Linked DNA regions of Homo sapiens: regions 2 and 3 are each linked to region 1. The links are contacts of gene promoters, found by promoter capture Hi-C in blood cells and fetal thymus (Javierre and others, 2016). All regions are on one chromosome and are shown on one strand. Each heading gives the region's core, a stretch centred on a gene start or on the middle of the fragment in contact. The rest is flanking DNA. Distances are from core to core; before and after follow the strand shown. Region 1 holds the start of WWTR1 (WW domain containing transcription regulator 1). Region 2 overlaps WWTR1 (WW domain containing transcription regulator 1). Region 3 overlaps COMMD2 (COMM domain containing 2).

Region 1 (3,470 bases), core at 296-2,795:
CTTTTCTCTGATTTATCTCGGTGTCACATCCCAAAGGGCCTGGCTCTGGACTATCTGACTTAGAGTGGCCAAGGAAGGGACTAAGGGTCTGTGCCCAAGAGTTGGCTTCAGTCCTGCAGATTCAAGGCAAAGTCACCTGTGTGTTTTATGGTGGATGAACTTCACCACTGCTTCTGATCCCTGCTTCTGATCCCTTACAATTCCAACACTCAGAGACTCACTCCCTGCTTCCAGCTCTCCATATCTGTGAAATAACCGTGGAAGGACACGCACCATCTCTCTCTTTCTCTCTCTCTCTCTCTCTCTCTCTCTCACACACACACACACACACACACGAACACACGCGCGCGTTGGGCACTGTGACTTGGTGCCTTCTTCGGCTCCAGGCTGACTTACTTGAGGAAGTACCTCTGGCCAGTGGCCGTGAAGGTCATCTCCCAGCCCGGGGGCAGTGGCAGCTCGTCGGTCACGTCGTAGGACTGCTGGCGGAGGTGCGCGTGCTGCTGCGCGGGGCTACCCGCAGCACCCGCGCCGGTGCCCAGCTGCAGGGACGCGGGCGACGAGTGCGAGCGGACATGCTGGGCACCCCCAGCCAGTCGAGGCCCCGGGTGGCCGCCCGACGAGTCGGTGCTGGACTGGCGCGAGTGCGAGCCCGAATCAGGCTCCTTAAAGAAAGACTCCGGCAGGATCTTCTTCCGCCACGAGCTAGGCTTCGGATTCATGACAGAGTTGAAGAGGGCTTCGAGGTCTGTGTCTAGGTCCTGCGTGACGTGGATCACTTGCTGCCCAGGCGGCGGGAGCGGAGGGGGCGCCGAGGCCGGATTCATCTTCTGCAAAAAGAAGGTCAGATCAGCCTTTTATTTAAAGTCGGAGGAAGTGGGTAAGAGGGTTACAGGGTGAGAGGGCGAGATGGTGGGAGAAAGAATAGAGGGAAAAGGAAACGAGGAGACAGATAATTGCCCGCCTGGAGATCCCAGACACTCAGCGGTAAGACCAGCAGGATGGGGGAGGGGTCCCTCCTGGCCTCGAGAATTATGCAACTTTCTTGAAGCAAAGAAGTTGCCTGGAGGAGGAGAAGATAGGGCGAGGGGTGGAGGGAATAACTGCACTCGGGGCTTGCTGAACCGCAGGATGGCAAAGGAAAGGTCGCACGATTCCAGGACAGGCAGCCCCCCGAAAGAAGTTCAGCCCGAGCCAACTCCACCACGTCTCGACTCCGGAAGCCCGAGGAGCCTGGAGCCCTGGAGTGGTGCCGGATGAGCGCGCGAGCTCCAGCGGGCACTACCTGGGCGGGCAGCGAAGCTGAGCCTGAGCGCGCGGCGGCCGCCGTCCCGCCCGAACTTGCCGTCGGGCCTGGGTCGCTCGGGTGAGTCCCGAGATTGCGGAGCTGGAGCCGAGGCTTGGCTGACAAATCCCGACCCGACTCTGTGCCTGGCAGTCTAAGGGCTTCGGCTCTCACATCCCCCGAGCTGGCCTAAGGCGCTAGTGCTGGGCGAAAAGGAGGCGCAGGAGAAGCAGACAGCGCGGCCGCAGCAGCTCCCGGACTGTCCCATAAACAAAGTTTGGAGCAAACTCCCACCCCCAGGAAAGAGGCGGGCCCGAAAGTTGAGCTGTTGAATTATGTATGACCTCCTAGTCCCTAGCCGGCCAGCCCCCGCTCGCCCCTCCTCTTCCTCCTCCTCCTCCTCCCACCTCGGCTCCAGAAAACCCTGGGCGTGATGGGTACTTTACTGGGTAAGAGGAGACGGGTGCCCCCCACCCACTCCTCCCGGCCGCGCGGACCTCTCCCGCTCAGACCTGCATCTGCATTCCTTTGAGTTTACCACGGACTTGGGGCGGGATCAAAGGGAAAGTGGCCTGAGCCTGTTTCATCAAGGGGTTGTGGACCGAAACCAAGGCCGGGGGTGGCGGAGGGCACGCGGATGAGGGGCTCAGGCCTAGGAAGGGCCGGTCCTGGACACCGCGCCCTCCCCTGCAGCCAGGCGCCGAGGCCTGCAGCACCCGGAGCGCCGCACTGACCCGCGATTCTGCCCGAAGGCCGGCCCGGGTGCGCCCCGGCGCGGGGAGACACCAACAAGGCCAGCTTTTCCACGAGAGGCTGCTTAGCTCTTGTGACCATATTTGGTCTGGCGAGGAGGCATCTTGGCTGCCTGGCTCTCAATTGTCTGCTAGAGCACAGACGGTGCCCAGAAAGTGCCTCTGTCACTGGAGATGCGGCTTCGCCAACGGGTGGGTTGTAAACAAACAACTTTCAAACCATTCATCAATCCTTAATTTCCTCTACGGGGGTGACTCAGGCCACTAGAGATTGAGAAGAAAAAGCTGGGTGTTGGAAGAGAAGAGCAATTGCACCCCCCTCCCCCGCAACATCCGTGAGGGTTGTGGGAGGATTGGAATGTCCCTGCCGCCCTCCGGGGAGCCTGGAGCCGGGATGGAACCCGAGCAGGTGGCTGGAAGTAGAGAGGGTGCGCCAGTGACCCGAAAAAAGCCACCCACCTTCCCACCAACTAGATCTGGGCGAGGGATGGAGACCCCCTGCCTCTAGCTAAGGGAAGAAGGTCAAGTCTGGCGAAACAGCTGCGGGAAGTAGGAGGAGGCCTTGCCCTTCAGAGCAGCTCAATTTCTTTTCTCTCTGGTTGCCTCTCCACTGAGGGGAAAGGGTGGGGGGAGATGGCGAGGTAAGCCAAATTCCAGGAAGCCCCTACTCCACCCCATTTGATTCAAATAGGAGTTTATTAAGTAAATCAAACGAGACAATGTAAAGCACTTCGCACAGCACCGGGCTGGTTACGTAAGTGTTTGTTAAATAAAAGAGAACTGTATGTTCTTCAAGTTCACGTATTGTGCCTTAATTTTTTTTTTTTTTTTTTTGAGTGACGTCTCCCTCTTGTCCCCCAGGCTTGAGTGCAATAGCTCCATCTCAGCTCACTGCAACCTCCGCCTCCCGGGTTCAAACGATTCTCCTGCCTCTGCCTCCCAAGTAGCTAGGATTAAGACGCCTGCCACCACGCCCAGCTAATTTTTGTATTTTTTAAAAGCAAAAATGGGGTTTCACCATGTTGGCCAGGCTGGTCTCAAATCCTGACTTCAGGTGATCCGCCCGCCTCAGGCTCCCAAAGTGCTGGGATTACAGGCATGAGCCACCGCGCCCAGCCTGCCTTAATATTTTTACAGGGTAAAATAAAGTCGAAGTTAAAATCTGGAGCTGCCTTGGAGGAGAAAAGTTTAAGGAAAAGACAAGGCCACTCATAGTTTTGCCTCGGAAAAGGTAGAATTTTGGGGCCACTCCCTGAATGGCTGCATCCATATCCAAAACAGAACCACCAAAGTGAGCCACTTCCCCTGTTATCTGTACTTGGAGGTGGCTCCAATTCCAGACTCCTCATAGACTGGAAGAAATTAGGGCCATCTTAGACTAAGGCAGGCATACACGTATCATCCTTTTTTTTTTTTTTTTGAGATGGAGTCTC
Region 2 (3,317 bases), core at 277-2,776, 68 kb before region 1:
AGTGCAGGACTGAAAATCTTGTCTCTGCCTTAACTGTGAGTTGGAAAAGGCGCCACCATAATACTCCCATGAGTGCTTAGCCTAAAGGTGCTCTGAACTAGAGAGAGGCACAAAAGGGGGAAAAATGCAATAGAAGGAAGGGATAAAGAGGATCAAGGGAAGTTCTATAATTAAGCAATATTTTACGGCTGCCTCTGGCAGCTGTTTGAGTGAGCGGGAGAATCTAAACGAGGTGTCAACAGACACAGGAGCTGCCCTCTCCTTGGGCAGATCCAGCAGGGCCTAGCATGTCCTGTACTTCACAGGACAATCTGGGGCATCTTATATCCAGCACCTGTCAGCCTGGGAGACTCCCAGCTGCAATACTGTTATTGCTGTCATCTGCCTAATCCAGAAGGGAGCGGCATTTATTGTATCTAGAAAGAAAGATTAGGCTAAAATATATTTGACTGTTCTTATGAAAGAGAATGCATGCCTCACGTAACTGTGTTTGTTTTCTTCTTGTCCCTCCTGACTTTTTCTGTTTTTATCAAAGGAAGAAACCTACTCTTGCAGCTGTATTTTTCATTTTTAACCCCCACGTTAATCATATATTCACAACAAATAATGGTTTAAATTTAGTCTGACGACCAGCCACAAGGCTCCTTCTCATCCCACTATGAGGCACATCCTGCCTTCAGACTCTTTACGCAATCCTCATTGACTTGGAGAGGAACCCCGTGCAATGAGTTAAACAGGATATAGACCATCATAATTACCAGAGGAAATGGTATTTTCTTTACAGGATACATTTAGATTTTTCCTTTCCATGAGTTTTTTTTTTTTTTAATGGTGTTAAAATGAAAGGAGACTTTAAAGCAGCTTTCAACTTCTCAGTAGCCCCAACTATGGACTAAATGCAGAAGGCCTTACACACAGCAGACATTAAAAAACTACTCATAGAATAAGTGACTGAATTAAAGGAATGAATGAATGAATGAATGAACATATTTAATGGGTTTACTTCGACAAATCATTTTGCTTCTAGGTATCAAATATAACAGTTGAATCTTATTCACATCATATATGTTTTTATCTGTAAGTACTCATAAAACTAATCTAGGAAGATTTGTTCCTTACTTGCCCCAGAAAGGAACAAATTCTAGAGAATGCTGTCACATTCTATTAAACAAATTAAGTCATTCTCAATTCATTCCTGTTGATTCTGCAAACTGCTCGGCTGAGCCTCTACCAGGTACTATACACCATGGGTCCTGAAAGTCCACCATATCTAGCATACAATAGACACTAAATAATAAATGTATGTTGAATGAATTGCTACTTATATTCCTAATAATGACAATCATGGTAATAATGATAGTTACAATAATAATTATTCATATTAATTATTAGTCATAATATTCACAATAACCATGCTGTTAATGTCTGATAATAATAGTTGACATTTATATACCATTTTATGGCTTCAAAAATGATCTTAACTTGATCATTACATAACAGGCTTACTAATCTCTGTTTTTAAGAAATAAAAATGGGCCGGGTGCGGTGGCTTACACCTGTAATCCCAGCACTTTGGGAGGCCGAGGCAGGCGGGTCACCTGAGGTCAGGAGTTTCAGACAAGCCTGGCCAACGTGGTGAAACCCCATCTCTACTAAAAATACAAAAATTCACCAGGCATGGTGGCGGGTGTAATCCCAGCTACTCGAGAGGCTGAGGCAGGAGAATCGCTTGAACCCGGGAGGTGGAGGTTGCAGCGAGCCGAGATCATGCCATTGCACTCCAGCCTGGGTGACAAGAGGGAGACTCCGTCTCAAAAAAAAGATACAGAAACAGAGTTGGGTGAAGTAAACCTACTTAATAAGTTCTTAGTTTCCATGTGGCAGAGCAGAGTCAAATCTTGTTCTCATAATAAGGTCTAGGGCTTTTTCCATGATACAATACTGCCTTGTGAACCCAAAGAGGCTGACGTGCATAACTTGGGCCATTAGGAAGGAAGGAAAAGGGGAGGTGGACCGTCAGCACTGCTGATAGCCTGACTTTGTCCTGGAACAATATCTCCTGCAGGCTTGGTCCTCCTCTTGCTTCAATAACACACCACCATCCCTCCTTGTCCCTCCTGAAACCCTTGAGTCACACAGTATGTCAACTTGCCTGCAAAACTTAGCTTTTTTTTTTTTTTTAACACCCTGGTTTTAATTAGGCATATCCTGTCAAGAAAAGGGACTCTTGTGACAATAAAACAAATTAGGTCCATGTGATCCTGTAGTTGTTAGGGAGAAAGGAAAGAAAGAAATACAAATACTACTTAAAAAAACATAAATACAAAGCGGAACGCCAACTCTCCACTATGACCTAAAAGGAAGAGGTAAAAGGACTCTGAAGATAGATTTGGAGATGCAAGGCAACAGCTGAATATGCCATGAGCAATGCTGGAACCCTAAGCCAGAGCTGGGGATGTGATTCTTAAGGCCCTGCCACTTGGAAAGCCAAAACCTGTTCCTTCAGAAGCCAGTCTCTGATAGTAACTTTAGCCTAACTTGCCTTCCATTTTTATTAATGCTTTTAATATCATATTGCCTTTAGTTTTTATTAATGTTTTCATTATTTTAATAACTAGGGAAAATATTCAAATAGGGCTGTTGTATAAAATGTGTTCAGTCTATAATAAGCTATGTAACCAGCCTTTATAATTGACTATATAACTGTAATTACTTAACTAAAATTCAAGATGTACATTCACTTTTCCTAAATTTTCTCTAAACAAAAAAAAGTAGTAGAGATAAATTCCAATTTTTCTAAGAAATTACCTTTTCATGATAATATCTTATGTTTTAAAACATTTACACAAAAAACATTTTTGCAATGTATTCTGAAATTAAAAATAGTTATATTAGAAGAAACATTTCATTCTGGGTTAGGAATTGTAGTCATTTTAAATGACTTGAGAAAAAAGTTCATGTTTAAATACTCAGACCCGTAATAAATATATTAATACAAAAGTGCGGGAAAATGTACAAATGTTATCATATGTTGCCAAATGTGAGAAACATTGCGGGAGGGGGTAGGAGAAAGAATTAGTGAATACAAAGTCATTGTGAATTCAGCAAAGGGAGAGACACTTCTGATTCTGCCAACTGCATCTGGTATTTCCACCTAAAATCTACTTCTCCGGTAACAAATGCTTTCAGGTTCAACCAGACTGTGAGGAGACACAGCTATGGGGCAAGGTAACCTCAATGATGTTCTATAAAACATCAGTCCTAGAAGATAATCCCCCTCACCCCTGCACCCAAAAGGGTTCTGTTATCAAATAAGT
Region 3 (3,463 bases), core at 297-2,796, 80 kb after region 1:
AAACTATTTTAGAGGATGGAACAGCCTAAGAGCATTCTAAATTCTGAGACTAGAACTTTATCCTTTGTTCAACACACAATATGGGTCACTCTAAGTACCTACTATTAACAAAACTGAATCTGTACCATGTAAAAAAGCCAGAAAAGATTTCAAAATGTGCTTTGTTATCAATATAATGCCATGCATAAGTGGGTAGTTTATAGCTTAGTGTAACAGAGCAGAGTAAAAAAAATTTTAAAAGTTAAAAGGCCTCATATGGTTGGTGAGATAAGGCACAAATCTTTTTTGTGTTATTTCCCTTTTTGGCTGCTGGGCAGACTCTTCTGCAACAGAGGATATGATAACTGCAAGAGAAGAAAATGAAAAGTGTAGTCTTTGCAACTAAAAAATGTCAACTTAGGCTCAAGCACAATAAAAAAACACAGTCTCTCACTCTGGTGGTCATATAATTGGTAATATTTCTAATGATAACAAACATAATTTACATTATAATTATAAAAAGTTCATCTTATTCAAAAGTTGCTTGGGTTTAGAATGGCAACAACTCAAGTAAAAGCCCAGTTTTAGAGCACATTAACATAGATATTTGTATTATTGATACTGCCTTTTAACCCACTAAGGATATGAAATTACTTTTTCTATATTCGCCCATTATGGTATGTCAAAACTTTTGGACTCATGGCTGTTGTGCATACTTAAGTTATAGATGGAGTTCCTGGGTAGAGAGGAGCTGTAAAAATCTAGAACAAAGAGCCATTACTACTCTGTGATCAAATCATTAAATACACATTTTAGTGCCATATAGTATTTTTTCTCATCTTTATATAATTTTTTGAAAGCTGAAAAATAATGGGCTTATTCTGCTTTTATAATTCAAACATTACTTTCAAAATGTATAAAGCTTACTGAACTAACCACGTTAATGGTGGAGTTAGGTTCATTTGTTCTAAGAAAAGTATTTGAGTTTGAATATAACAGTCATGATGGTTTTAAAAGTGAACATATTTAAGTTAGAGGCAATGTAGTATCATAACATTTCCACCAAAATATTTTCTACTGTTGGTGGAAGAAAGATGTGAGAGTAATCTATGATTATGGAAACTCTGGAAAAGAAGATACTTAATCAAATTCATATAAGTACAGAGAAGACTGAGTAAGTTATAGCAGGAGGACTTTAATATAGCAGCTGACAGAACTTCCTGATCATAAGGGATGTGAAAAACTTCAAAGAAATACTGTTTCCATTTGAGATGAAAAACAACACAAACAATTCTCCATTTAGAAGTAATATTACCTAGAAAAGGAGAAACGGCTTAATGTCTTAAGATTCCCATGTTTTTTTCACTAACATGGAGAAAAAAATGACAGAAAAAGGAAACTCTAGAGCGCTCTATATATAAAACCCTCAGCCTGTTTACCTGAGTCCTTTGGGGACTGAGTAGTTTTGAACAGCTGAGTTTTCTGGTAAACTATGTGTTTATCATTCTAAGAATTAAGTTTGGATAAAAATATCTACTAAAAATATATTTAAATTCCCTGATCTTTTTTCTTTCCTTTAATATTTTTTCCTAAATGTTATGAAAGTTATTCAAACTTACTATAGAAATTAAAAAAGAAAAGAAACAGCCATAATTCCGCCACCCAGAAACAACCAGTTGGCATTTTTTTCCCAGTTTCTTTAACAGAGTATACAGGACATAATTCAAGGCTGTAAAATAATGAGATCCTCAGTCTACAAAACTATTTCAATAATGGTAAACATTTATTGAGTTCTTTGTAAAGCCTGGTACTATGTTAAACATTCTATATACATGGTCTCATATAGTCCTTACGAGTCAATGTGGTAGGTAATCCTATATTCCTATTTTAGAGATGAACAAAAAAAAAGGCTTTGAGAATTTATCAAGGACCCATAATAATCCACAGAACCTAAATTCAAATCCTTTTGTCCAACTCCGAAGACTTATCTCTTAACCACTTCATAAGATTAAAACGCTGAAGGGGCACATACTGTTATGAATTTTAATGGCTCCTACACATGCATCCTTTATATATACCCTTCATGATTTTTCAAACCATGTCAGATTCTCATTTTTCAATTCTCAAGATACAGCATCTTCTTATAGCATCTTCACCACCTTTCCCGTTTACTGTCTTAAATGTGCCCAATCTCGGAAATATCAATAACAAAACAAGCTTGTTGACATTTTGTGAAACATTTAAGGAGACTTCCAAGGAATGTAACATATGTAGACTTTGTGACACATATATTGGCATGTGGTCACAGCTCTGTTCTGAGATGAGATGTTACTATTTTGGCTTTGAGACATGAAGGATATGACATTTAAGTCTAAACATGCACCAGCCAATCGTGAAAAGTCAGCATACTCATAATCCAAAAAGCTTCAATAGAAATTTAGATAGTTATAGAAGGTGCATTACTCAGAGTCAAGAAACCTGGGTCATACTGGAGAGAACAGTGACTACCTCTAAAGAAAATTATGTTCATATACAAGCTACAACAAATATCAAATGTTATATAAAACAAACAATGCAGGGGAATCCACAAGGATGTGGAATGTTTGAGCAAAAAAAAGGAAGAGGCTTATTCAATGGCTTGTACTAAAAGATAAGCCCCAGATTCTAAAAGAAGGTAGGCAAACTGCTCCCAACTCACCCTGGTCTCAAAAGGTGAAGAAGGTAGAACATCACAGAAGGAATAATGGAGTACAGTGAAAGGAGGCCAAGGCAGGTTGATAAAAATTAAAAAAGGATTAGCACATGCTTTCTTGTTTTAATTGGGGTAAGAACAGTGGACAAAGAGTTGGAGATAGGTTGTTCTGAGGAGACAAAGGGCTATTGTTTCATCTTGGCTGGGATCAGCCATGTTTACCTTCCATCGAAGGTGGACAAATAAAAACCCTTACAGAGGTATTTTTTATCATATGTTTTGCAGGCATGTTGCTTTTAAACCCAATGACATATGCTACTATTTCACGTAATAAAGTTTCTTTTTGTTTGTGAGGTTGTATATGAGAGCTTCATTAATCAAGTTGCCACTATAATTAAAAATTATTTCTGATTATAGTTTGCTGACATCTAATAATATAGTTGTTTCACAACGGCAGAATATATACCTACAGGAAAAGGGTGGCCCAGATGCCTGCAGGGACCAATGGGTAACCATCTCAAGTATGTTTTTCTTCCACTAGCCTATTCCCTGCTAGGCTCTCTCTTCTCTAAAGAGATTGCAACATGGTATCACTCTGATATGAAAATCCCTAATTCTTACGAAGCAAAGTATTGACAAAGTCTAGAGCGCAGTTTAGAGTTTGATTGCTTCTACAGCCCTTTCTAGATTATTCCATGAAGACTCTCAGGATAAGGTCTTGGACACATAGTTAAGACTGAACCCTCATTTCCACCCTTCCATACAATTCTTCTCCCTAAGCTGACCTCAGTA

Evidence for each region. Contacts are between HindIII fragments. The CHiCAGO score rates a contact against its expected background, and 5 or more counts as called.
Region 2: a fragment that was not itself captured here is called in contact with the fragment with the promoter of WWTR1 in region 1 in 1 of 17 cell types (endothelial precursors); the score reaches 5.7 in endothelial precursors.
Region 3: a fragment that was not itself captured here is called in contact with the fragment with the promoter of WWTR1 in region 1 in 1 of 17 cell types (endothelial precursors); the score reaches 7.2 in endothelial precursors.

Annotation. Positions count from the first base shown.
Region 1 is chr3:149,656,480-149,659,949 of GRCh38, forward strand. It overlaps WWTR1 (WW domain containing transcription regulator 1), which reads right to left and starts at 1,546. Exons shown (of 7, transcript NM_015472.6): 1 at 1,286-1,546; 2 at 397-830. The coding sequence starts at 827. WWTR1-AS1 (WWTR1 antisense RNA 1) reads left to right here and starts at 1,731. Exons shown (of 3, transcript NR_040250.1): 1 at 1,731-2,229; 2 at 2,899-3,470. RefSeq lists enhancers at 1,373-1,952, 1,560-1,629, 2,190-2,399 and a silencer at 1,860-2,019. The HindIII fragment of the contact is 3,935 bases long and covers 1-3,470 here.
Region 2 is chr3:149,588,834-149,592,150 of GRCh38, forward strand. All of the region lies in intron 2 of WWTR1 (WW domain containing transcription regulator 1), which reads right to left. Among named protein-coding and RNA genes, the nearest start is that of WWTR1-IT1, 61 kb to the right of the region's middle. The HindIII fragment of the contact is 4,706 bases long and covers 1-3,317 here.
Region 3 is chr3:149,736,731-149,740,193 of GRCh38, forward strand. It overlaps COMMD2 (COMM domain containing 2), which reads right to left. Exons shown (of 5, transcript NM_016094.4): 5 at 1,742-3,463. Among named protein-coding and RNA genes, the nearest start is that of COMMD2, 14 kb to the right of the region's middle. The HindIII fragment of the contact is 1,295 bases long and covers 900-2,194 here.